Linked DNA regions of Homo sapiens: regions 1, 2, 3, 5 and 6 are each linked to region 4. The links are contacts of gene promoters, found by promoter capture Hi-C in blood cells and fetal thymus (Javierre and others, 2016). All regions are on one chromosome and are shown on one strand. Each heading gives the region's core, a stretch centred on a gene start or on the middle of the fragment in contact. The rest is flanking DNA. Distances are from core to core; before and after follow the strand shown.

What was found. The method cuts DNA at HindIII sites, captures the fragments that hold promoters and counts their contacts. A CHiCAGO score of 5 or more calls a contact.
Region 1: a contact is called between a fragment that was not itself captured here and the fragment with the promoter of MB21D2 in region 4, in 1 of 17 cell types (monocytes). The highest score is 5.9, in monocytes.
Region 2: a fragment that was not itself captured here is called in contact with the fragment with the promoter of MB21D2 in region 4 in 3 of 17 cell types (M0 macrophages, monocytes and M1 macrophages); the score reaches 6.3 in M0 macrophages.
Region 3: a fragment that was not itself captured here is called in contact with the fragment with the promoter of MB21D2 in region 4 in 3 of 17 cell types (M1 macrophages, M0 macrophages and monocytes); the score reaches 7.8 in M1 macrophages.
Region 5: a fragment that was not itself captured here is called in contact with the fragment with the promoter of MB21D2 in region 4 in 1 of 17 cell types (M0 macrophages); the score reaches 5.9 in M0 macrophages.
Region 6: a fragment that was not itself captured here is called in contact with the fragment with the promoter of MB21D2 in region 4 in 3 of 17 cell types (M1 macrophages, M0 macrophages and endothelial precursors); the score reaches 8.4 in M1 macrophages.

What each region holds. Positions count from the first base shown.
Region 1 is chr3:193,500,360-193,503,872 of GRCh38, forward strand. ATP13A4 (ATPase 13A4) reads right to left here. Exons shown (of 30, transcript NM_032279.4): 3 at 2,134-2,280. Among named protein-coding and RNA genes, the nearest start is that of ATP13A4-AS1, 51 kb to the right of the region's middle. The HindIII fragment of the contact is 1,674 bases long and covers 838-2,511 here.
Region 2 is chr3:193,615,431-193,619,069 of GRCh38, forward strand. It overlaps OPA1 (OPA1 mitochondrial dynamin like GTPase), which reads left to right. Exons shown (of 31, transcript NM_130837.3): 3 at 244-340; 4 at 1,748-1,855; 5 at 2,354-2,407; 6 at 3,439-3,506. It overlaps OPA1-AS1 (OPA1 antisense RNA 1), which reads right to left. Exons shown (of 3, transcript NR_046634.1): 3 at 3,169-3,480. Among named protein-coding and RNA genes, the nearest start is that of OPA1-AS1, 10 kb to the right of the region's middle. The HindIII fragment of the contact is 5,969 bases long and covers 1-3,639 here.
Region 3 is chr3:193,575,491-193,578,946 of GRCh38, forward strand. It overlaps a transcript of ATP13A4 not described here and the pseudogene EEF1A1P23. Among named protein-coding and RNA genes, the nearest start is that of OPA1, 16 kb to the right of the region's middle. The HindIII fragment of the contact is 6,578 bases long and covers 1-3,456 here.
Region 4 is chr3:192,915,843-192,919,363 of GRCh38, forward strand. MB21D2 (Mab-21 domain containing 2) reads right to left here and starts at 2,014. Exons shown (of 2, transcript NM_178496.4): 1 at 1,788-2,014. The coding sequence starts at 1,998. RefSeq lists an enhancer at 980-1,309 and a silencer at 1,960-2,319. The HindIII fragment of the contact is 3,892 bases long and covers 1-3,521 here.
Region 5 is chr3:193,457,690-193,461,196 of GRCh38, forward strand. ATP13A4 (ATPase 13A4) reads right to left here. Exons shown (of 30, transcript NM_032279.4): 14 at 1,392-1,542. Among named protein-coding and RNA genes, the nearest start is that of ATP13A5, 81 kb to the left of the region's middle. The HindIII fragment of the contact is 183 bases long and covers 1,358-1,540 here.
Region 6 is chr3:193,559,653-193,563,231 of GRCh38, forward strand. It overlaps a transcript of ATP13A4 not described here. Among named protein-coding and RNA genes, the nearest start is that of ATP13A4, 6.5 kb to the left of the region's middle. The HindIII fragment of the contact is 2,084 bases long and covers 296-2,379 here.

The sequences.
Region 1 (3,513 bases), core at 425-2,924, 580 kb after region 4:
CCTCTTAGCCTGTTTCCAAACCTGACATAGTTCTTTGCTGTAGTCTTCAGACTTCCTTTAAACCAGCGATCTCCAACCTTTTTTGGCACCAAGGACCGGTTTTGTGGAAGAGAATTTTTTCACGAATCTTGGGGATGCGGTGATGGTTTCGGATCATCAGGCAATCATTAGATTCTCATAAGGAGCACCGTAACCTAGATCCCTCACATGCGCAGTTCACAATATTAAGGATTTCACTCCTATGAGAATCTCATGCTGCTGCTGACCTGACAGGAGGCAGAACTCAGGAGGTAATGCTCGCCGGCTTGCCAGCAGCTCACCTCCTGCTGTGTGGCCTGGTTCCTAACAGGCCATGGACAGGGCACCAATCGGTGGCCTGGGGATTGGGGACCCCTCCTTTAAATGCCCCTAAATGGTTACCCTCTTGGTAATGCTGTTATTGTCATCAAGGCTGAGCCCATGACAGCTCCTCTGACTTTAAGGAAAGTTTTGTTACTAGCATAGCTCATTGAAGTTCACAAATGACCTTAATATCCATCGTCTCATTGTGTGTTCATAACAGCCCTGAGAAAGGCAAAGAAGGGGTATTACTTTTATTTTATAAATAAGAAACTCAAGACCAGAGAGGCAGTAACTAACCAAACTGCCTATGCCGTAGCTGGTAAATGAAGATAGTACACCTATCACAACTTTCCATTTCAAGACCTCTGCCCCTCCTACAATTCTGTGTGTTGACTTGGCCATTTCTTCATTTATCTGTCCACTTATTTATTTGATGCTACTAAAGATGCTAGAATTTCAGAGCAATAAAACTATGAGAACATAGGCTATCTGGGAAGCTTATTTCTCCAGGTGAATGGACATCTAACAGATTAGGGAAACTATTATTTGGAGGTACTTGACCTCCTTTGTTTTTGTTTATTTGGGCAGCTAAGACAGCTGAGTGGGTGGGGTGCAGTGGCACACCCCTATAATCCCAGCACTTTGGGAGGCTGAGGTTGGTGGATCACCTGAGGTCAGGAGTTCAAGACCAGCCTGGCCAACATGGTGAAATTCCGTCTCTACTGAAAACACAAAAATTAGCTGGGTGTGGTAGCAGGTGCCTGTATTCCCAGCTACTTTGGAGGCTGAGGCAGGAGAATTGCTTGAACCCGGGAGGTGGAGGTTGCAGTGAGCCAAGACAGCGCCATTGCACTCCACCCTGGGCAACAAGAGTGAAACTCCATTTAAAAAAAAAAAAAAAAAGACAACTGGGTGATAACAATTGACAATAGGAAAATTGCTCATAATTTACTTTATTACTTTAAATAACTGAACTTGAGCTCATAAAACTAATTTAAACAGCTGACCACACATACATAAATGTAAGACAAAACATTCTGTCTTATAAAATGTTTTTAATATGAATGTTAACTAGTCATAATCCAAGCAGAACTAATTTAATAGGGTGAAGAGGGAGCAACCCAAATACATTTGAATGACAAGAATTCAAATAAGGTCATTTTTGTAGGCATAAGCAAACCTCCTGGGATATTCCTGGGTGATTACTTTTACTATAAGATTAACCCTGTTACATAGATTGTAATATGGGGAACGATACTATTAGAGCTAATATGTAAGAGCTGGGCTGGGCGGTACATGCCTGCAATCCCAGCTACTAGGGAGGCTGAGGCAGGAGGATCACTTGAGCCCAGGAGTTTGAGGCTGTAGTGTATTATAATCATGCACCTGTGAATAGCCACTGCACTCCAGCCTGGGCAACATAGTGAGATCCTACCTCTAACAAAAGGAAAAGAAAATAGAGCGAGTATGTATTGAGCATCTGCTATATACCTGGAACTACTTTAATCTTTGTATTTCTAAATTTATTGAATTTTATCAATTAATATTAGAAATAGACATTATTATCATCATTTTGTAGATGAGAAAACAGGCTCAGCAGAGTTAAGATCAATGGTTGCGCTATTTAGAAGGAGCAAGCTGAGATTTGGACTGTCTGGCTCCAAAGTTCACATTTTAAATATACACTATCAAATGAGGATTGGCACAGTAGAGGAGCTACATTTAACTATATACTTGAGGGGAAAAAGATTAAATCTCTCTGACATCAGCAGTAGCCATAAGTTTACTTACCTTTAGGTCTGGCTTTCTTATGGCTCTATTTATGATATACTCCTCATCTGTCATGAGAGGGTGGTCAGGAGTGAGACCAAATGCGCTGTTTAATGCTGACAGGTAGATCCATATTACCTTTTTCCAAGAGTAAATTTGGAATTCATCCTGAGGAGATAGACATCAAAACCCCCAAGAAGTTAAGAGAGGTCAGCAGGCTACAATTCAACCTGAGAAACATCATTTTAATATAATTCTGTAAGTGTTTGGCGTTAGTGAATATTCTAGACAGAACGGTTTGTCTCTGAAAGATGATGGATCTAGAACCTTGAGGGAAAAAGACCTGTCATCACTGACTGAGGAATCTGGATATGAAGATGAGGCACTGACACATAACAAAGCTTGAGAATCAGGAGGCTCATTCGCAGGTAAGAACTAGTTCACTGCATCACCTTTCAACCACCTTTCAGCCCATGACCTGATGACCATCCCCATCTTTCAAGGCTTAACTCAAATTCCACCTCCTACAGAACAGCCTCATTAACACCCTTCCACCGGGGCGGGGCAGGGGGGGGAACTATCACTTTGTTAACTCCAAAAAAATGTTAAGTGTCCCTCTCTTGTGCTCTTAATCACTTTTTCTAGTCCTTCTAGACTACCTGGAATGCAGGGATCACGTTTTATTGTTCCTTATCTCCCATTCATGTGGAGCACTGAGACCTGCTCAGTCAGAGTCTGAAGAATGGAAGAAAAAAACTGAATCCATGGACTGAACCTGCCCAAGGTAATTGCCAAGATGTTAGCACAGGTGGGGTTGAAGAAGGCACCTTATTGCATGACCCTAATTAAAATTGCTTCCATTTGCAGTTCACTGATTACTTCACACAGAGTAAAATTAGAGGGAGAAGCACAGGATTGAGAAACAGATACCACAATGGTCCCTTAGAGACCTATTTGACAGTGGTTATTGTCTGAATAGGGAAATACTAAACATAAAACCCACTCAGATGACTGACAAACCTCAGGATTCAAGAAGTATAACAGAAAAAGTCAAACGTGGGAAAAATTTGATGCTTGGGAAATGTAGGTCAGAGCTGGAAATTGTCTCCACCACCACACCCATTTTTGCTATGAAGAGTGCCCTAGCTGACTCTGCAAAAGGCAGAGAGGGGAAGATACAATCATTGTAGCTAATCTCTTATATTCATCCTCCTAAGAGAAGACCGTCTGTATGCCTTTGCTCCTGCTGCTTCCTTAGCCTGTAGTACACATTCTTCTCTCTTCTCCTTAAGTCTTTACATGGCTGGATTCTACCATCCTTCAGGGTCCAGCTCAGAGTTTATGTCCTGAGAACCTCCCTAATTACTCTGGGTGATCTCTCCTCTAAATCATCAGGATACT
Region 2 (3,639 bases), core at 1,140-3,639, 700 kb after region 4:
CAAAATTATGAAACCTGTTTGAAATAGGAGTATATTCTGAATTTTTACATTTTCCATATTTAACAGAGGAGTGTTAACTTGTTTTATATGCTTGTTTGCTGAGACCACTTAATTTTGTTTCTTAAAAGTTTTGAACATAATACATTATTCTTAGTAGATTAATGTGTTTTAATTAAATAATTTTTCTTTACATGTTTATTTGGCATGCAGAGCATCTGATTGACACACTTTCTTGTCTTTTAGACTTTTGATCAGTGGAAAGATATGATACCGGACCTTAGTGAATATAAATGGATTGTGCCTGACATTGTGTGGGAAATTGATGAGTATATCGATTTTGGTTTGTATCATGAACATTAAAATACTTTTTTTGGTCATCTCGAGGAAAGAGAAATAGTTTATTGAGATAGTTTCTTAACTTATGAACCTAATATATCACGGTTTTATTTTAATGATATAAGTAATAGAATATCAATGAAAAAATCTGTATAAAAGAAATACCCAGTAGCCCATAATTTTACCACAGCTGCCACTAACTGTTTGGAGCATTTTCTTTTAATTATACTTACTATATGTGGTTAGTATCTTTTTAACTTATCGATTGAGACAGGATCTTGCTCTGTCACTCAGGCTGAAGTGCGGTCTTGGAATCATAACTCACTGCAGCCCTGAACTGGCTAAAGTAGTCCTTCCGACTCTGCCTCCCAAGTAGCCGGGACTACATGTGTGTGCCACCATGCCCGACTGATTTTTTAATTTCTTGTAGAGATGAAGTCTCACTATGTTGCCCAGGCTAGTCTCAAATTCCTTAGCTCAAACCTCTCACCTCAGCCTCTCAAAGCACTGAGATTACAAGTGTGAGCCACTATGCCTGGCTTGAGTTTTTTTCTTTTAATTTTTTTCTTTTCATGAATACTACCACAGAATAGTATTTTAGTTCCCTTTTTAAAAATTATGTAATCATGGTGAATATTCACTTTGGTATTTTGTCTTTTGCTACCTAACATATTTTGTCAGCATTTCCATGCTGCCAAGTAGCCTTTCTATTAATAATATCATTTTCTGCATTATGTAATGTTGCCCAGAGCATATTTATTGTGACCCACCTAGCTAGCTCCTTTTGATTGGATACCTTGGTTATCTCTACCTTTTGTAGCCAAGTTCTTTAAAAGTCTGTTAGTATCCAGGGTAATTTCTTTTCTTAGTTGGCCACTGCCCTCCCTTTTTCAATAGGTGGATGAGAAAAAAGTATATTGGATCGCTATGATTGCCAGTAATTCATGGTGATCTTTAAGAAATATATTTTCATCAAATTTTTTTAAAACCTTTGTCAGATTTCTTAGTTTAGGTGTATGTGGAGGTGGAATTAATCTATACTTGCACTTATTCACAGAATTTATAAAGATAAAACTGTTCTATGTTGACGAATCCATTTGCAAAAAAAGCACACTTTCAAATTGTTCTTCTAATATTAATGAGGAGAGCTTTCAAATTGATGTATTTGCCAGTACCACAGCGTAGTGGCTGAGAGCCTGTATTCTGGAGCTGGACTGCCTGGGCTGGAACCCGGGCTCCTCCACTTCCTTGCTGTGTACCTTAGTTTCTCATCTGTAAATGGTGTTGATAATAGTAGCTGTTTTGTAGGGTTGTCATGAGGATTAAACAAGTTAATACTTTAGCCCTTTATAAGAATAGTATCTGACATATTTTCTTAGTTTCATACTCTATATGTTTTGATCTTTTCCAGAGAAAATTAGAAAAGCCCTTCCTAGTTCAGAAGACCTTGTAAAGTTAGCACCAGACTTTGACAAGATTGTTGAAAGCCTTAGCTTATTGAAGGACTTTTTTACCTCAGGTAAGGAAGAAGCTGTTTGATCTAATTTAAAAATTTAAGAACCATGGAGGAAAAATACATGGATTATTTGTTTATTCCCATTTTTTTAAAATTAAAATATTTAGTACCAATGAAAAACAGGACATTTTTTAAAAAGATAAACACAAAGTTTTGTTACACAATGGTTTTAATCTTTGTGTAGCCCAGTAAAATGACAGTTCCTAAGCACTTAAACATACTTGGCTTTTAGTGAGGGGAAAAAATGTATCACTTGTTCTTGACAAGTAGATGAGACTTCCTATGTATTTGCTTTTCATAAGTGGTTGGACCAATTTGGTGGTTTTAAAACAAATTTAAGTATGATAGACCATAATGAGTAGCATTTATTAAGTTTAATCCTGGCATATTTGCCCAATTATTGCCCTATCGTAATATGAAATCTGAGATCTCAGACATCTTTGTTTGCTCATTTCTGTTAAATTTTACATTTCTATTTCCCCTTTTGCTGATTTTTCACAGGTCACAAATTGGTTAGTGAAGTCATAGGAGCTTCTGACCTACTTCTCTTGTTAGGTGTGTAAACAGACATTTTTGCTGACCTTAACATGCCTTTTAAATGCTTCTAATAAACTAGTTGCAAATAAAATTGCAGACCAAATTTATAATGCTGCTTATGCTGAATTTTAAAACCCCAGAACTATATTAGGCAAACTCATTATCCTTTAGGTGGAAATAATAAAATAATTATTTTGTGATAACACTAAAATTCTTAAATATGTATGTGTATTATAAGATTAAAGCTATTAAAAGAAAATTTACTTAGCAAAAATATTTTCTTGAAATAGATCTAATTGTTTTTGATAATTGAAATGAAAAGTAATTTTAGTTTGTCTCATCTGCCCTGTCATGGTTGACATTTAAATTTGTTTTCCGGCCGGGCGCGGTGGCTCATGCCTGTAATCCCAGCATTTTGGGAGGCCAAGGCAGGCGGATCATGAGGTCAGGAGATCGAGACCATCCTGGCTAACACGGTGAAACCCCATCTCTACTAAAAATACAAAAAATTTGCCGGGCGTGGTGGCACACGCCTGTAGTCCTAGCTACTCGGGAGGCTGAGGCAGGAGAATTGCTTGAACCCAGGAGGCGGAGGTTGCAGTGAGCCAAGATCGCGCCACTGCACTCCAGCCTGGGCGACAGAGGGAGACTCTGCCCCCCACCCCCAAAAAAAAAAAGAAAAGAAAAAAAAATTGTTTTCCTGCTATACATGGTCTGTAATGCCAGTGGTATGTGGCTGAACTGTAAGTACTCTCATGTAAAATAATCCTTACCAAAGATTGTCTTATTTTTTTATTGTAATTTTCAGTTATATATTTTTAATTGTTAGGTTAAACATATGCTGCGATTGCTATAGTTAGTTTTTTTTTTATTTTCTGCACAGGTTATCAGTCATGTTCCTTAAAATAAGAATAAAGGCGATTTGATTCTTTGAATCTGAGTTGCTCTAAAAATCCATTCACCTTTTCATTGACTCGATGTAATTTGAAATTCAGCTTAGGCTGTTGACATCACTGGAGAATGTAAAGGGTTGCATATTTATCTTTAAGGTTCTCCGGAAGAAACGGCGTTTAGAGCAACAGATCGTGGATCTGAAAGTGACAAGCATTTTAGAAAGGTAAGTGTAAAAGAGAATTGTTCATGTAGGTAGTCTTGAAAGATTTTTTAAAGTTTTTACTTCTTTGGAAGATTTTAAAATGATAACATCTGAGAAGCAAATACAAAAACATCCAAGTAGAGATATCGTTACT
Region 3 (3,456 bases), core at 819-3,318, 660 kb after region 4:
GCAAGTAGAAATAAGGGAAGAGCAATGGAGGAGAAGTGAGAAACGTGGCCAGGGAACAGAGATCAAGTTTCAAAAATAACTGAAAGACTTTTTAAAAACACGGGCATCTAACAAATTTGATGCTGATTGTATATCCATCAGGAAAATCTCTATTAGATTAGCAGTCCCTGGTGCAGTTTTTCTAATTAATTACTACAATACCTGAAAAATCTCTATTTCTCCAAAATTTCCACAAAGTTTGCTACCAGTATAGATAACTTTTGTGACATTTTTGTTTTGTTTTTAAATTTAGGTGGAAGTTTTTTTAAGTATCTGAGTTCCACTCATAGGTTGACTTGGTAGAGAAGAAGGATAACAGATGCCATTTCCTAAACTGAATTAATTTAGACATAGTGATTTTCAACCAGAAGTGATTTTGTCCCCCAAGGAATACCTGGTAATTTCCTAAGGCACTTTTGATTGTCTTGACTGGGACGGGGACTGGGATGGGGCAGGGAAGAAGGACAGCAACTGGCACCAAGTGGGCAGAAGCCAGGGATGCTGTCAAGAATCCTGCAGTGCACAGGCTAGCCATCCGCAAGGAAGAATTTTCCAGCCTAAAATGTCAATAGTGCCAAGATTGAGGAATCCTGATTTAGAGGAAGCCAAAGATCTGAATCAAAGGTGTCCATGAGAGCCTAAGCCCCCTGCAGAATGTACAGGAATCTTGAAGAAGACATTAGACTTTCCACGATCCATGGAATGTGGCTTGAATCAATCTTTTTTTTTTTTTTTTTTTTTTTTTTTTTTTTTGAGACGGAGTCTCGCTCTGTCGCCCAGGCCGGACTGCGGACTGCAGTGGTGCAATCTCGGCTCACTGCAAGCTCCGCTTCCCGGGTTCACGCCATTCTCCTGCCTCAGCCTCCCGAGTAGCTGGGACTACAGGCGCCCGCCACCGCGCCCGGCTAATTTTTTGTATTTTTAGTAGAGACGGGGTTTCACCCTGTTAGCCAGGATGGTCTCGATCTCCTGACCTCATGATCCACCCGCCTCGGCCTCCCAGAGTGCTGGGATTACAGGCGTGAGCCACCGCGCCCGGCCTTGAATCAATCTTATGTAAATTATTGGGAAGAGGGTGATTCTAATTAACCTCTGGGTTACGGCATCAAATAAGAAAAACTAATCAGTTAAAGTTCTTAATTGCAAGTAACAGAAACTAACTCTGGGGAAATTGAGCAGAAAAGGAATGTATTAGGTAATACTGGGCAGCTCATAGAATCTCTGGAAGGGTTGAAGAACCCGACCTGGAGGCTAAGCAGAAAAAAACAACTCATAAAAGCATTCTACAGAATCGTCCATGAAGATATCGGTGCCTCCACCACTGGCACAGACACTGCTGGAATAAAGGAAGCCTGAATGTTCTAGCAATCAAGATAGAATGGATGCTTCCAAATAAGCAAAAAGAAGCAGGACCTCAAAGTTTCATTTTGAAAACATATAAATATCTTTCAGCCTTAACATGAGAGAGTGAAAACTCAGCCACGTAAGCTCAGAACCTCAGGGTCATTGTTGACTCCATAATAGTAATCCAAGTCAAAATACACTTGGATAAATACATTGCCCTCCTAAGAGGCCTCCTGGTTTTAGTCTTCCACCTATAACCAACACCACATCCACTGGTAGAGTAACTTCCTATTTGGATTATGGTGCTTTCCTTCAAAGAAGTTATGCATAAATTAGCTTTCAAAACAAATCCAAACATAATTTGACATCATTCAAAGCACTCTGTGATCTGTTCTGGACCTATATTCCAGTCGTCACTCCCACTACTTATCCAGGCAAATGATTTGCTTATTGAGCCCTAAGTATACTTGGCAAATGGTTTTCTTTCTTCTGCACCTTTACTCTTACCATTCTTTCTTCTGAGATGCCTTTTCACCTTCTCTTTATCTAAATCTCACATTCATCCTTTAAAATCCAGCTCAAAACTCACAGAACACCTAACAATACCACGAACCTACTTTGTGATCTTGAGAAAATGAATACATTGCTCTGAACTTATATAAGTACAAAATGGAACATTGTATTTTGTATTTGTATTACACAATGTATACAATTAACATTGCATTTGTACTACATTTTGCTGAAAACTTTTTATTAGGAAACCATACTGTCTACACTGTGCTATAGTGGAACTGGAAGCTCTAAACCTGTAGTCCTGAGGCACCAGGAGGGTGAGTGCAAGAGCACAGTCATTCTGGAGACTTCTTTGCTGATGAAGTAGGACTCATTTTCAAGTCCACCCTTTATCAAATAGATCTCTATGTTGCAATCTAACATACAGAAGACTGTATCTCATGATAACCTTTTCTTCCAGTGCTTTCAAACAGTGAGGCTTTATTAACACTTCCATGAAACAGTTCTGAAAATTAAAAACACTTCAATCTCTTTCATTCTCTCTGAATAGAGAATATGTTTTAATGGAGTAAATTCTCAACTTTCAGACTGCAAACTCAAGTGCATAATAAATATTGCATTTCTTGGGCTAGGTGCGGTGGCTCACTCTTATAATCCCAGCACTTGGGAGGCTGAGGCGGGTGGATCACTTGAGGTCAGGAGTTCAAGACCAGCCTGGCCAACATGGTGAAACCCTGTATCTACTAAAAATACAAAAAGTAGCCAGGTATGATGGTGTGTGCTGTAATCCCAACTACTCGGGAGGCTGAGGCAGGAGCATTACTTGAACCGAGGAGACGGAGGTTGCAGTGAGCCAAGATCACACCATTGCACTCTAGCCTGTGCAACAGAGTGAGACTCCATCTCAGAAATATCTATATCTATATCTATATCTATATCTATATCTATATCTATATCTATCTATCTATCTATTGCATTTATTTAAATAGACTTAATTTTAACTCTACACCTTCACTTAGTTGGTTTCTGGGAAGCAACTGCTGCCATTTTGGTGGTTCTCTCAGTATGAAAAATAAAATTAGGTCATTCTCCCATTATAGAGAGTGTGGTGATTCATTTTGTGTGTCAACTTGACTGGATTAAGAGACACCATGACAGTTGGTAAAGCATCACTTCTGGGTATATCCATGAGGATGTTTCTGAAAGAGACGGGTTTTTGAAGCAGTAACTGAGTAAGGGAGATTTGCCCTCACCCAGTGTGGGCATGCACCATCCAGTCACTGAGTTCCTGGACAGAACAAAAAGGGAGAGGAAAGGAACATACCCTCTGTCTGTCTGTCTGTCTGTCTCTCTCTCTTTCTTCCTCTCCCTCTTTCTCCTCCCAGGAGCTGGACACCCATCTTCTCCTATGCTTGGACATTAGAACTCCACATTCTCCCCATTCCAACCAGAAACTGACACAAATACTATTGTGGCTGGGTTGTAGCCAGTTTTCTTAATGTACATGCTGATTTCCTTAATTATTTCCTCCTATCTCTTCTGACTGTAGGATGGCTCAGT
Region 4 (3,521 bases), core at 764-3,263:
AACTGGTGGTGACCCAGTACCTTCTTCTAGTAAATGACCTACGCAAGTGACATCAGAACTGATCTGGGGGCTGTATTAACACAATGGCAGACTTCCATTATTTATGCCACAGAGAAAGGCTATGATTAACTAAACAACTTAAGTAACTGCGCTCAGCCTTCTGTGTGTGGCCCCACCTTCCTGACAATCACTGTGTTGGCTTTTGGCTTTGTAAGCATTTTAGGCTTCCCTGTGGAAGCTCACTCCTACCAGGTTTTATATATATATATATATATATATTTAATTCATCTATTCATCTACATAGTTGAACGGCTGAATCTCTCAATAGTTTTTCAACCTCATACGCAACGTAAGACACACTTGAAGAGTGCGGCGCAAAAGGTAAAAACCAGCCTAGAGTTTTAACATGTTTCATCTAACTTCCCAACGCGTGAACAACTACCAGCGGACACAGACACGTTCAGTCTGTATTACCCCGTCCTTGGGCAGTGAGGAAGAAGAAAACCTAGAAGGAAGAAGGTATCCCAGGATAGAAGCAGCAACAGCCGGCTGAAACCCAATTAGATTGCAGGAGAAAGAGAAAAGCCCTGTCTTAGTCTGTGGCCAAAAGACCTTTCCCAATCAAATTTTTCAACACCTGGAAAATTGGCTTATCTATTTGTAGAGAGCACCCAGAGACGAGCGTTAGAGCAGCGCTACCCTGGAGTACCAGTTCTTCGGAATGTTGACCGCCGGCCACGCACCGCTTGACAGCCACGGATCCGCTGGCGGAGCCGCAAGTTACAACCCAGGCGCCTGGCAAACTCACACTACACCTCAGTAGCAATAATCCCAACGGCAGGACACCTGGGGAGGGTGGGCTCGGTCTCCCGGGCCTGGCTCAATTATGTTCCTTTACACAGCATTCAATCATGTTTCAGGAGCCGTAGGTGAGGGGCTGGAGGTGGGAGTGGGGGACACATTTTCTAGCCCCCGACGTCTCCGCGGTTGGAAACTCTGGGCACCTCTTTCGGCCAGCGCTAAGACAATACACAAAGAGCAGGGAACCGGCGCTCCTCTGCGGCCAGAGCTCCGCGCCTAGTCACGGAAGAGCTGGGAATTAAGAATTCCGAGCTCAGCGAGAGCCCTGAAGAAGCACCGGAAATGCTTCCGATCGCTTCATAAGAGAAGTCAATTTGCAAATCAAAGTTGCAGGAACTCCGGACGCCTAGACTACTTCAGCGGGTTACTCGGGAACACCCAACAAGTTTGGCCACCGGGGGCTCGGCATGACAGCGCCGCGCCGCGAGACGACAGAAGCAACTTGTCGCTCGGGCGCCAAGCCAGAGCCCTGAGCCGTCTCCGCTCCCAAGCTCGGGAGAGCACCCAAGAGCCGGCGTCGGGAAAGCGGAGGTCCCTGCCTCCGGCAGCCAAATCCCTCAACTGAAGGCACCTCAGGGGCTCACCTGGACTGCACTCGCTTCCAGGGGCTTCCCCCAACAGTGCAACGCTTCACCGCGAACGCCTCACCTGCCTGCCAGCCCCAGGTGGCGGAGAAATTAACAAAAGAGCAAGCGAACAGGGGGAAAGGGAGACCCGGCGTAAAGTATAGTAAGGAGGGGAGGGCAGGCAGCTCGGCTTTCGGCGGAGAAAGAAGAGAGAGGCGGAACAGAGATGGCTTATACCCAAGGCACCGGCTCGGGAAGGCAACCCAGAAGGGAAGAGGTCGAGAAGCGGCAATGGGTTTTCTACTCCGCTTCCCATCACACACACACACGCACACACACCTCCCCCTTTTTCCTCCTTACCCAGCATGGAAAAGATGAAATCCTTGGCTGTGTGAATCTCCAGCGCTCTCTGGTCGTCGTATTCCCGCTGGTCGTGCTTCGTAAATTCTTGGATGAGTTTGTTCAATTCCTCCACCCGAGCTCCCGACCTGAAATCCAGCTCCGGGAACGCAGGCTTGTTGTTACAGCCCAGGGAGGCTGCCTTGTTGGCGGTGGGAGCCGCCATCTTCATGCAAAACGCGCCGAGTAGCAGCTCCGCGGCAGCGCGGCACCCACCCCCGCCCCCCACCCCGCCCCCCTGGGCCTCCTCCCCTCGCAGGCTCCCAGGCTTTGGCCCCGGCTCGTGGGCGGGTTGGCGGGCGGGCGTCTGGGCGGGCAGTCCCCCGCTCCGTGCGCTCTGGGCGTGCGAGCTTCGGGAGGAGCTGGACTGCAGCGAGGGTGCGTGTGTGGCCCCGACACCCTTTTCTCCGGCCCCACGCCCGCCCCGATGCTGCGCGTCCCTGCCCTGCCCTGGCCCTCTCTGGCAGCGGCAACGGCGGTCGTAGAGCCAACTGGAGCCTCCCCCGGGCGAGGAAAGTGAAGTGGAAACAATGTGAAATTCACCAGCTCTGAAATCAACAAGCTGCCGGCTCCGGTGTTACGGAGCCAGCACCAGCGTCTCCATTTAAAGGGACAGCGCACCCAGTGGAAAGGAAAATAAATAAATGACAGAGGTCTGCACGCATATACCACTTGCCAATCCGTACTTGGGAAGACGCGCGAGGTGTGGATGCATTCTTTCTCCACCTCCACGGCCGTCCCCCCATCCCCTTTCTGGGCAGGGTTTGCCAAGCGCATTCAAGGAGAAGAAAGTCTTCCTCCGTTTGATTTTAAGGGCGGTGTCCTGGGGGAGGACATCTCTGTGCGCGTTTACCTCTCTATCCCAAGAACTCCAATACCTTTAAATAGTAAAGGAAACTGCCTTAAGGAATATGAAACCTGTCTTCTACCCTTTTCCTCTTGGATTGCCAAGATGATAGGATTGAGCGTATAAAAAAAGAGGGTCCACATCTAACCCAGTATTGGCACTCCCACTAACCCCTAGATATCCCTACCTTTGCCCAAGGTAATTAATGACCTGAATAACAGCTTATTTATCTTAACATATAATGAGTTAATGAGATTCAACCTACTCTAATATAAAGATAGGGAAACTGAAGTGTGGGTGTGGGAGAGGGGAAACAATGTATTGCCCCAGGTTCCAAGAAATGTTGGATGACAAGATGAAAATTTTCTCATTCAACAGATAAAATTTGAGTACGCACCATTTGCCAGATGGAGTGACAGAATGTGACAGTGATAACCAAAAGACATGGCTCCTACCATGGAGTTAGGCTTACATGACAAGGCAGGTTCAATCTAAGTCATAGTCCTTTAGGCAGAATAGAGTCTCAGAGGTGGTTTTAGTGTTTATGGGGTGTATCATTCAAACACTTAGGAGGCCCATTGGCTGTGAGAAACATAGGTTATCTTCCTCCCTAATTCTCCAAAATCTCTCTTCTCTATCCCACAGTCCCTGATTTAGATCAGGTCTGTTTCACTTTCTTACCCGAGTTCTCATGGCCAAGAATACAAATTGTTTTGTTAGACATGGAAGGAAGTACGGACTCTTCCATGCCTTCCCCTATAAAATGGGAATAATAATTCCTGTCTCACAGGTTGTTTTAAGGATTACGTGAGATAAAACAGGTCAAGCACTTAGTTCAAGGACTGACA
Region 5 (3,507 bases), core at 199-2,698, 540 kb after region 4:
TATCTTGTTTTCTCTGTTGGAATGTGCTGTGTAAAGGCTCAGTCTCCATTTCTGAAGAGCCTAGCTTGAAAGCCATGCACATGAAGGGCCAGACTTCTTTTGTGTGAAGCAAGCACCTTTCTGTCGTTCTTTTCCTGCACTTCACGGCTCTTCCTGCCCTTGCATGTGTGTCTAATTTGGATGGATGGTTCTCAGGGCTGGGGTAGGGCAGGGCAGAGACTGTGATATACATGGTTAATAATCAGTAATTGCTATAATAATGACCCTAAATTATAGTCAAAGGGACCTTTTACCCAAAGACAACACAGTGCTTTGTAATCATCTCACTGAGTGGCTGACAAGGTCCCAGAGAGAAAACTGCAATCCCTATTTAAAGATATGGAATCAGTAACCCAGAAAAGATGGAGGATTGGCAAAGTTATATTAGATTGCTATGAAATAATGCTCCAGGAGATTTGGAAGGGACCCTGAAGATTGTCTCTTTCAGTGGTGCTCAAAGTGTGCCACCAGAGGCGAGAGCTATATGCAGCTCAGGAGAAAGGAAGGGATTATAGCTAAGTAGTCAGGGATGCAGGTCCCTTAGTCCTCATCTTTAGATCCCACCTTTTATTTCAACTGGAGTAACTCCAGCTATTTAGTCTTTAGAGTGTTTCTGGAGAACGTTTCCTTTTACGAGAAGATTCCAGATTGTTTGTCTTGTTTTGTGTTATGTGAACACCACTGGTCTAATTCAACTTCATTTTATGGTCATGAGAGCCAAAGCCCCAACATGAGAGATAGCTTAATGGGATTCAGCAGTCAGTTAGAGCAGAGACAAAACTAGAATCGGAAAAGCCAGATTCCTGAACGACACTGTTGGCTCTTAAATCTAGTTTAGAGTCTCAACAAAAGCTCTTTAGTGGTTTTCCTTTTTGTTCTTTCTAGTCTTGGAAATAAAATCAATATGAAATTAATAGAAATAAGACTTATAGTCCCCGTGAATCTATGAGTTATCCTGAGCACTGGAGAAAGCAATGTTTTCTGATCCCCATATTCTGGAAAATCTTCGAAACCAGACAATGCTCGGAGAACAGTACAGAGAGACAAGAAATAACTGCATAATAAGTACAATTATATTAATATGATCGAACCTTTAATATTTGCCAGGCATAGTGCCAAGGATTTTCTTACTGCATCATCTCATTTAATCCTCACAATCTCATTATGTAGATGCTATTATTAGCTTCATTGCACAGATGAGGAAACCAGCCTTAGATTGGTTTGCCCTTCACTACCAAATGTACTCCACATTGGAAACCTCACCTTTTATAAGAATTAGATAGCTCTGATATTGCCTATGTTGCTCTGGCATTGAAGAAGCTTCTCAGATTCTCTGAAGAGCAGAGGCTTACCCAGGTGGTGGCTTCAAACATTTTGAGGTCCAGAGGGTCTCCCTGGATGGTCCCATCAAGAAGGATCAGAGAGTGGCAGCTGGCCATCGCTGCACACAGTGGGCCCCATGGCAAAGCCTGGCCTGAGGCAAAGCTGTGAACTTCCTGAAAGCTTAAGGAGAAAAGGAAATGGGTTTCCATTCCATCGCCTCATGCCAAAACAGAGCATCTTGGAGGTGAACAAACATCTTTATAAAAAAATAATTTAATATGCTTTGTTGCATTAATAGCCACTCTCCAATCCTCCCACATTAATAGTGCTTCATTCAGCCAAGTAAGTTCACTGAGTATGAGAAAGGTCTCTGAGTTTTTTCTTTTTCTTTTGGATACAGGGTCTCACTCTATCACTCTGTCACCCAGGCTGGAGGAGGACAGTGGCGTGATCTCGATTCATTGCAACCTCTGCCTCCCAGGTTCTAGCGATTCTCCTGCCTCAGCCTCCTGAATAGCTGGAATTACAGGCAGCCACCACCATGTCAGGCTAATTTTTTGTATTTTTAGCAAGGATGGGGTTTCACCATGTTGGCCAGGCTGGTCTTGAACTCCCAACCTCAGCTAACCCACCTGCGTCGGCCTCCCAAAATGGTGGGATTACAGGCGTGAGCCACTGTGCCCGGCTAAAAACATTTTTCAAATGAACACTGCATCCCCCTCTTCCACCCTGGCCTCTTGTGTCCATATCCCAACCATTATCCCCATCATCTCATTTTAGATAAGAACATAGTCTCATCTAAAAAGCTATTAAAATACAACTCAAATGTCATATGCAGGCTTCCTTCACTAATTCAGAGTGGAGGCCATTAAGTTCAGCTTTGGCGTCACAAGAAGAATGTTGTCTGCAGCTTGGTTAGTCACAGCCCCTTCTCAAATGTGCAGCACAGGCGTTGGTTCTCAAAGCAGCTTACCCTATTAGGAGGACGTTTGAACGGTGGAAGCTTCATCCTACATTGGGGCAGAATCTGCTCCTGGGAGCCAGTAAGGGTCCACTTGCTCCCCCTCCTCCACATGCCAACTTCTTTCAAACTTAGGGATCAACTCTGCCGTCCCCTTCACCCTCTCTCCCTCTGGTGTCGCACAGGAACCTCCGGCTGTTCCTCTAATAACAGCTTGATCAGGCCTCCCTCTCACCTTCCTTATTCTTCTTTTTTGGAAAAGTTCCTAAATTTGTCATTGTCTGATCCTGGAGACCACATTTCAAGACAGACAATTACTTCTGATAATATGGACCCTGAATTTATTTAAAGATAACCTTAAGTTGCTGTAGCCCTTTGTTTTGAAAGCAAACACATCTCAGTGTTAACTCACAATTCAGCCACATGGCTTCCTGGCTTTTGCATTCAAGCTTCCTTTTGTCACACTAAGAGTTCAAAAATGTCCTGGCTTCATATTGACCCTGTTAGTTATACTTATTACTATGTCTTAAAAGAGCAGCTCATCTTGGTGGTTTACCACATACCCAATGGTATTTTAGTAAATATCTAAAAGGAAGAGACCACCAGCAGGACAGTTAACACAGAAACTTAAACGCACACTGAAAAGCAAAATACAGATCAGAAAAAAAATCTTATTTTTACTATGAGACGTACACTGTCACTAGTCCGTAATTCTGAGTGTATAATTCTGCATTCGAGAGGATTGGGCCAGACTCTGTTTAGCACAGCAAATACATAAAGCTCTCTATCATTCCTGTCCACCCATTTTTATCTGAGTATTTCTGGTTATCAATCCCTGATAGCCTTTAATAGTTCTTAAAGTATCTGACACAACAATCAGGGCTTTTTGGAAAGGAAGAAATATCAGAGATGAGCTCACCTTTAACAAGAAGGTATTGAATAGTCTATAAGTCAGGTGCTCACTTCTTACCTAGAATTAATTCTGTTTTGTTTCATTTTATTAATTAAATTTGTCATTTTTTATTTTAAATTGTTTTAATCATTGGAATTCAACTTTGATTGGAAGGCAGGAAGGCAGCAAGGCAGGAAGGAAGGAAGGAAGGAAGGGAGGGAAATGAATCATTTACCTAAACATTATATTAATTGTTATTCCTTAAATGTAACAAGTCACTTTTAGAAACAAA
Region 6 (3,579 bases), core at 88-2,587, 640 kb after region 4:
GAAGAAAAGAGCAGGCTGATGCTGTCTCTGCTTCTCAGAGGACTTGCTCTCAAATATCCCCGTTCAGCACCAGGTCTGTTCTCCCAGTGCCTTGGGGTGGCCTGTTGTTTCCCTTTCAGAAGAGTCCTCTTTGCTTTCTGTTATTTCCAAAAATAGGAAATTAAAAGCTGCTCTCTGGAGGTAAGGCAGCTCCCCTTCTGTGAAGCTTACCTCAGTTGACAGCTGTTATAACAATTCCAGGTCATTAAGGACAACCTATAAAAACAAAATCCAAAAGAGATGGTCCCCAGGCAGAAGCTTCATGTCAGTGTACTTAATTTTGAGAACTTTTAACCTAAAAATTTGAATATACAAAACAATACAAGTTATGGTGCTATTATTAACAATCAGAGACTATTAGACTGGGCCTTAGAAATTACTAAGTTACTTTCATTGTTTCTTCGGTGAGAAAAAAGTTACTGGATGACTGTGTAACGATTTGTCCAAGATCACAATCTGCGAAAGCTAAAACTCTCAAGTCTTATATATGATATACTTCACACAACATCATATTGCTACTCACTTTTTTTTTTTTGAGACAGGGTCTCGCTCTGTCACCCAGACTGGAGTGCAGAGGTGCAATCATGGTTCACTGCACCCTCAATCTCATAGGCCCAAGGGATCCTGCCACCTCAGCCTCTCAAGCAGTTGGGACTACAGGCAAGAGCCACCATGCCCAACTAATTTTTGTTCTTGTTTTTTGTAAAGACAAAAAACATGTTGCCCAGGCTGGTCTTGAACCCTGAGCAAAAGCCATCCACCCACCTCTGTCTCCCAAAGTGCTGGGATGACAGGTGTCAGCCACCATGCCCGGCTGCTACTCACTTTTTGTAAAGGGATTAGAATAGGATACTTTGAAACAGTATCTCTAGAATATTTACGAGGACTTCATTTGCCAAGCATAGATTTCAATAGAACTTTTCCAGAACCCACCAATTGTGTAAAGCCATGGCCATATCACTGAATTGTACAGCACATCCCATTACTTAGGCATGATCCAGAGGGCTTAGGACATAGCATTGGGCCCACCCACTGGGGTGAAAATCTGTGCTTGGGGAGCTGATGACACTGCAGGTGCTTGCAAAGGAAATTTAATCTACCAGGCAATTGAAGCTCACAGCAATTTCTGCTTACAGCTCAGGGGAGCAGTTGGCCAAGGGGGAAAGAGAGAAAGGCCATAAGACAGAAGCAGAAATGTTCCCAACAAGCAGTTAGAGTCCAGCCATGGGGCAGGTGATACTTGGAAATCCAGACAGGAAGCTGGCTCCATGGAGTCTGTCCTCTAGTGGCTAAGCTCCAATCAGAAACCTCGGGCCTGAGGCAGCGTTCCAATTCCGAGTGGGAGCCTGGCATGGGAAAGGCTTCTTCACTCCTAGGAAAAATCTGGGGCTCAAGACAGGCTGCCAGGCAGGAACTTAGGAACAGTAGTACCCACAGGGGACCTCAGGCTTGGGAATGAGGCAAGAGCCCAATTAACAGAATCAGGGCACTGCCTCTGGGCAGACTAACCAAGAGTGTGGCTGGGTGCTGAGCTGCAGAGAGCAACGCTGGGCTGGATTCAGTGCCCTTGCTGTGGGCCTGGGATGACCCAGGAACTGGGCTGAGGCCCCTGGGGAAAATCAAGAACAGGTTCCTGGTGCAGATGAAGAAAGCGGCAAGGCTGGGGCTCCACTGGGCCTCTCTGCTTGCCATTCTTCCAAAAGTCCACTTAGGATTATTTATGCTGGTTACCTCTTTCATCAGCAAGTAAGATGCTCCACAAAAGGGAGGAGACTCTCAAGTGGATCAATCAATGATATTTTGAGAGAGGGGTGAAACTGAAATTAATGACAAAAGAAATTCAGAGCTCTTATTTGTGTACTGTACATGTCGTTCAGTGTCCTAAGCAAACTGGTAATGGGAAATGTTATTTACTAATGGAAAAAGGAAAGTAATAAGATAGAACTAATGCACCTCCTAGTACTCAGACCCTCTCCCAGTTAGTGTGGCATCAGAGGGGATCTCTGAGGTTTCTCAGCTCTCCCACAGTCCATCAACCCTGCCAAAGCACTTCAAATAAGCAATCTTAATAAAACTGTGCTTACCATGCAAATGTAACTTTAAAATAAGCCCCCCAGCTTCCAATCTAATCTCTGTCCCAATGGAGGTCTTTGGGGGCTGTCACTGTCTTTTCACATGCCTCTTTTTTACACACCCCTATGAAACACGCAACCGGACTACCTATGTCTACCATGGGATCATCACTGTACTTCTCCCTCCGCGGGAAATGGAGTCCAATCCTCTCCTCCTTTCATCCAGCCTTTCTCTGGCACCAGGGAGCTTTGCTGTTGGCTAGCTGCAAGCTTTGTTGGTTGCTCTGTTTGTTCATATCTCATTGACCCCAGAGTACATGGCAGAGAATAGCAGTAGTTCCTCACCAGTGGTGTGTGTCAGTCACCCTGGAAGCTCTCCTGGACCCCACATACTCTGGTCCCGGAGAGCTACCAAACCCAGACCTAGCAAACCTGAATCCCTGGGGTGGAAACAAACAAACAAAAAAAAACTACATTTTGATGAGTGTGGGTTATGTTGTACTTATACTACTTTAAAAATAAAAAGGAAAATAAAAGAATAAAGTAGATCTATTGTCATAGCAAGATGTCCACGATACATTAACTGCAAGTTGTTATAGAATGCTATTATTATATGATTAAATGCACTATATTATTAAATGCATTCATCAGGCATTTTTGTAAAAATGGGAAATATCTGTGTGTGCGATGTAATATATAGGTGGATATTTAAACAAAAGAGTCCATAGACTAGGGATTTTAGCCACTGTTCCCTGTTCTCCTTGCCATTTGCCTCCCAGGCCCTAGATACAGTGAAACCAATTTCAAATATAGAATCATACTGGTCAGCTGGGTGCAGTGGCTCAAGCCTGTAATCCCAGCACTTTGGGAGGTCGAGGTGTGCAGATGATGAGGTCAGGAGTTCAAGACTATCCTGGCTAACACGATGAAACCCCATCTCTACTAAAAATACAAAAAATTAGCCGGGTGTGGTGGCAGACACCTGTACTCCCAGCTACTCGGGAGGCTGAGGCAGGAGGATCACTTGAACCCAGAAGGCAGAGGTTGCAGTGAGCTGAGATGGTGCCACTGAACTCCAGCCTGGTGACAGAGTGAGACTCCATCTCAAATAAAAATAACAATAAAAATTAAAAAATCATAGTGGTTGTATTATGGCTCTATCATGTGACAGCCATGAAAAATTTGGCAAGTTGCTAAATTATCCTAAGCTTCAATGTTTTCATCTTTGAAATGAGATATAATCCCGTTACTCCATGATACGGTATTGTTGGAAGAACAAATAAGATTGTATACATGCCCAGTCTCGTGTCAGACAAATTATAAGACATTTTTTAGGGAAAAAATAGTGTTAGAAGTTGAACGGTACTTGAGAATTTTTTTCTTCCCAAAAAAATATGAAATGGGGAAAAACACAATTGAACAGCTTTATATTAATCTTTCTTGTTTAAGAACAGGAAAGATTATACCT